Linked DNA regions of Homo sapiens: region 2 is linked to region 1. Evidence: promoter capture Hi-C in human tissues and cell types (Jung and others, 2019). All regions are on one chromosome and are shown on one strand. Each heading gives the region's core, a stretch centred on a gene start or on the middle of the fragment in contact. The rest is flanking DNA. Distances are from core to core; before and after follow the strand shown.

Evidence for each region. Contacts are between HindIII fragments. The study calls those that stand out against the background at their distance.
Region 2: a contact is called between a fragment that was not itself captured here and the fragment with the promoter of RNF145 in region 1, in 1 of the 25 tissues and cell types used here (lymphoblastoid cells).

What each region holds. Positions count from the first base shown.
Region 1 is chr5:159,208,266-159,210,876 of GRCh38, forward strand. RNF145 (ring finger protein 145) reads right to left here and starts at 1,288. Exons shown (of 11, transcript NM_001199383.2): 1 at 966-1,288. LOC107986468 (a long non-coding RNA gene) reads left to right here. Exons shown (of 2, transcript XR_001742943.2): 1 at 1-415; 2 at 1,594-1,887. RefSeq lists enhancers at 1-54, 1-73, 1,661-1,760 and silencers at 971-1,160, 1,201-1,490. The HindIII fragment of the contact is 14,324 bases long and covers 1-2,611 here.
Region 2 is chr5:158,196,179-158,198,789 of GRCh38, forward strand. No RefSeq gene overlaps it. Among named protein-coding and RNA genes, the nearest start is that of LINC02227, 210 kb to the right of the region's middle. The HindIII fragment of the contact is 4,715 bases long and covers 1-2,611 here.

The DNA.
Region 1 (2,611 bases), core at 38-2,537:
AAACTCTTCCAGGAAAGAGGCTCGAGAGCTCCCCTCCTATCTCGCCAAGGGTGCTGACTCTGTCGCGCCACGCCACGTACCAAAAGGCTCGCGAAGAAAAACGCGGGCGAAGTTCAGCATCCCCGAACAGAAAGGGAACTCATTCCAGAAAGGGGGTTCACGGGTCTGAGGGTCCTTGGGTGGGGAAAGCAGTATTGGAGGGAGAAGACAGAAGGGATGGCAAGACAGAGGAAACCACGGGGACAAAAAGGAAGGGATGAGGAGCCCTCTTACTATAAAAGGGACTGACGGACGGGATGCAGAGCAATGGGCCCCCCTCGAAAAATGGACTGGCAGGCCCTTCCGCACCCCCAAACAACCTCGCACCACCTGAAAGCGGGGAGCTTGAGTTTGGGGCTGCGTAGATCAAAGCAGGGTAAGACGAAGGGAAAGAGGGAGGGGAGCTTGGAAGCAAAGTGAACAAAGAGGCAAAAGAGGCAAAGTTGGAAATGGAAACGAGAAAGGGAGCTGGAAAGGGGCCGCTCTGGAAGGGTCTTGAAAAAGGCCTAGAAATGGGATGCTGGGGAGGCAAAGGGGGACAGCCCCGAGGAAGGGCATCTCAGGAATGTAAGGGAGCGCTCCAGGCCCTGGGAAGAGGAAGGGATGGGAGGGCGGGGAGGCAGCCGAGGCCCGGGAGCTGGAACAGAGGGGGCTTTGCGCGGGGCCCAGGAGGGGAGAGCAGGGTCGGAGGGAGGCGACCACCGCGGGAAGAGCTAGAGGATGGGAGGGAGGGGTGCTGCGGCTGAAGAGGGGATGTGGACTCCTCCAATGCTAGGGAGAAGAGGGAGGTGAAGCGAGATAAAAGGAAAGGGGCGAACAGGGAGAAGAGGAAGGAGCCTGCGACGCGATGGGGGAGGGGAGGGAGGCCGTGGGAAGCGGCCGGGGGGCGCGGGGATGGGAAGGGGCCGGGCGGGCGGCGTGGTCACCTCAGGCTGCGGACTCCCTCCCTGGGGAGCGGCGCTGCCGGCGGGCGGGCTCCGCAACTCCCCGGCTCTCTCGCCCGCCCTCCCGTTCTCCTCGGGCGGCGGCGGGGGCCGGTACGGCACGGCTCACAGCGGCGGCTCTTCTGCGCCGAGCCTCGGATGTTGCTTCTGGGGAGGCGGAGGCAGCGGCAGCGGCAGCGGCCCGGCCCGTACGGTCACCATCGTCCGCGGCAGCAGGCGCTCGCGGGCCGAGCCCCTTAGCAGCCGGCGCCGGCGTCGGCGGCCATGGCCTCCTGCGTTTGCTCCTCCCGCCCCCGGCGCTCTGCGGCGGCCGCGGCCCGACTTCCGCACTCTGCGCCTGCGCGCGGCCCAGCCAGCGCGGCGCGCCCCTCCCGCGCGCGCCCGCGCTCACTCACAATCGCGCCCGCGGAGTGCTTTCCGCACCGCCTCCGGTGCGTGGGCGGGAGACATAAGCCTAGCCAAGCCCATACAGCCCGGCTCGGGTGGCTATGGAGAGGCGTACTGCAGAGACACCTGGACGCGCACTGTGACAGGCGCCATTCTGACACACGTGCTCTCTCACTCCCAAACACCACGGGCCGCAAGCGCTCACACCCACACTCACCTGCAGGGACCACGTGGGAGAATTTGAAGGGCTGATCCTGTCCCGGTGCATTCGCAGTAGCAATGATGCGAGAATTCGTTTTAACCTCGTCACTGACTGGACTAGACTGTAAACTCCTTGGCGTCTGGGATGGCTCAGCCGTGCCCAGCACCAAGTGCAGGCACTCAAACCCCTGTGGAGTAAGTGACTGGATGAATGAATGCATTGGAACTGTTCACTGAGTATCTGTAACAATTTTGATCCCATGGTTTGGTACAAAGAATTTTATTGCAGTATGAAATTAAATGGTGTTTGTGTGTTTGTCTTGTCTTGGTCTAAGGTTCAAAACAGGCTAATGTATGTTTTCCCCTCCCCAACGTAGAGGAGTTCCACTTTGTCTCTGTGCCAGTCTCTATCACAGAATGCGCAATCCTACCCTAATTTAAATGTCCACACCTTTTAGGGCAGGAACTGTTGCCCAGAATACATAGCCTGAAGCATATTGTGTGTTTACACAACGATAGTCTTCTGGGCTTGGCAAGACTTCTCATTCCCCATTTGTCTGCCACTCTGCCTCACCACGACCTTCTGCAACCCCCACTTCTATCTCCCCTGCCTTCCACCATCACCAAAACCCCTCCACTGTTTCTTGCTTTCTCTTTCGTTAGTTCCTGGGGAGCCAGTTGCTATGAGCACCTAGCCTGGCCTTAGATGTTGAAAGGGCCAGTGTACACAGAAGATACACACCCAGTGATGGGTAAGATGTTGCAACTATACTGGGTCATGCTGAAATTGTGAAGCCTCAACTTCTTCATGTGCAAGAGAAATTAATGTACTGTAATCTCGATGTCTGTGTTGAGGACCCTCCTTGTAAATTCAAGTCTCTGGCCTCTGCCCTTTGAATGGTAAACCCCCAATTCTGAACACTCTTGTATCCTGCTGAAATTGTGAAAGCAAGCTCTGTATTTAGAAAATGCAATCCCTGGAGGTATCAGTCAACCAAACTCTGAGTAACTTGCCTTCCATTAGTTTGATAGCTCTGTAG
Region 2 (2,611 bases), core at 55-2,554, 1.0 Mb before region 1:
TTTAATCAGATTCCAATAAAGTTGAGTATATGGCTTAGAGAGCGAGAGAATGAGAGAGGGGGATGTGTGTTGTGTTTTATTGTGTTTGGAGTGTGTGTGTGTGTCTGCAGAGGATATCTGAAGGATCCTACCACGAAAAATGATCCTCAGTCAAAATGTTAAAGTAGATGATGGTGTGTGCCAGGGGCCATTTCTTACTGTACCACTTTTCTTTCAAATCCGAGATGTTAGAGGAACACAGTACTTCTCCAAGATACAGTGATATTTCAGGCAGTACCAGACAGTGGGAAAGGCTTTTTGCTTTCGTTTGTTTGCCTGCTATTTATTACTATTATTATTAGCTTTTGATGGGGAGGGGATGGGAATTTCTGGTTTTGGGGACTTCTAGAATCCAATAACATAGAGAGCTGCTTGAGGTTAGTTGTGCTACATGGTTTAATGTGGCTTTTGTTGGGTTGTTTTTTTGTTTTGGCCAGGAGTAGGAAACCGGCTGCAAAGCAGGATGATTTGGTTTTGATGTCTGTCCCCTCCAAATGTCATGTTGAAATGTAATCCCCAGTAGTTGCAGGCAGAGCTCAGTGGGAGCTATTGGGCCACGATGGGTAGATCACTAATGAAAGGCTTAGCGTCATCCCGTTGGTGATGAGTGGGTTCTTGCTGAGTTCATGCAAGAGCTGATTGTTTAAAAATGTGGCACCTCCCTCAGCCCCTTGTTCCTGTTCTAGCCATGTGACACATCGGCCCTGTGGCTTTGCCTTCCGCCATGATTGGAAGCTTCCTGAGGCCTCACCAGAAGCAGATGTTGGTGCCATCCTTCCTGCACAGCATGCAGAACTTTGAACCAATTAAGCCTCATTTCTTTATAAATTACCCAGCCTCAGGTATTCCTTTACAGTGACGCAAAAATGGACTAACACACAGGAGTTACAGTTTAAAGGCCTGTAGGGGCCATGACTATGATGGAGATGATTGAACCCATCTGGGCGTGAGGCAGCTGGGATAGAAGGGGACTGTGCATGCAGGAGATGGAGCTACCGCATTCCAGCCCGCTGCTGCTGGGCAGGGATGCAAGCCCAGTGTTGGCAGATCTTTGATTTTTTTCTGGATTCTGATGTAAAGTTTCTTGACTTTAAAATGTTTATCACTCATTCAAATTAAGAGGAAAAAAACCAACTCACATCCTGCACAACCTTGGAAAGGTCTGTTTACTCCTTTATGAAACAAAAGCATTAGGGTGGATGAGCTCAAAAATTTCTACTTGACCAGACCTTTTAGGATTGTATAATTCCTGAATCCTGAGTTCAGACCTTCAAAATCCCTTCATTTCCTGTTTTTCTTTTTTTTTCACAAAGAGGTGGGCAGATGTTCAAAAGGAGAAAAGAGGAAACAAAACAGATGTAGAGAAGGATCAGGAAGGTCTAGATAGTGGAAGGTGGTGCCTGCCCATGTGCCACTCTGCTTTTTGGAGAAAAGCTTCTTTCTCTGAATTCTTTATGAAAGCTACCTTTCCCTCCCCTGAACCGCAATAGTCCTTTTCCAATCCCCTTTTCAACAGATATGCTTATTTAATATATTTATTAATTGCCTGCCTGGGGGCAGGCATACTTTTATGACTTCTGTAATTTTTCCACTTGTATTATAGTTACTTGAGTAAAAGGATGGAGAGAACTTTATTTTCCAAATTTCTTGGATACCAGGAAGGAGGCTGGTCTGTTGCAAGTACACACTGTGAGAGAAGCAGGGTGAGAAGAGGCAGAGCGGACAGGGCTTACGCTGTTTGGAAAAGAGTGCGTAGTGAGGTGGGTCACCTTTTGGAGAGCCCACGCTTTGAGAGCCAGCAGAGTGAGGTGGAGAGCCATCAAGACAGCCGACAGCTATGTGGCGTGAGATGCAATTGCCCTCCACTGTCCTCAGTTCTTCCACAAAGTTACCAAAGTTGTGAGGTGCTGGTGCCCGATCAAGGCAACAGGCACAGGTGTAGCAGCAGAGCAAAAAGGCCAGGAGTTTGCAGATGTCATGAGGAGAACTGTGGATTCAAACAAGCCTTGAAACTGTCCGAGCCAATTCCTGAGATGCAGTGAGGTCCCCAGGTAACATTTGGGTACATTTGGGCACATCTGGGCCCATTGTCACCTGAGCCAGGTTGTGAGCAGTTTGGGAGCAGGATCCTTGTCAAAGTTGTCTCTGGAGAAGATATGGGGACAACACAGTGCTTTTGCATGGAATGGATGTCAGTAAATACTTACTTACTGAATGAATGATTGAAGAAAGGAAGGCAGGCAGAAAGGAACGAGAAAGCTGTTAACTGCCAGTCCCTTAACATGGAATGCAGGCTTTACATGGAAAGACAGACTAAATAAACCAGCTTGGAGAGAGTTAATTTCTGCCTGCAGCATTCACAGGAAGGATAATGTATGCTGGGGCGGAAAAGCATTAGTTTTTCCCTTTTTGAAACCCCTAAAAGATTTGTCTGAAGCATATATTTAAATGGGCAGCGTACAGGTGTTTTCAGAGCTGCTCCAGCCCCAGAGAAGGCCTCAGGGCAAACCAGAGAAGACGGTACTTGGTAACGAGAAACACTCCTCAGCTACTCTGCATGCTTCAGTGGGAA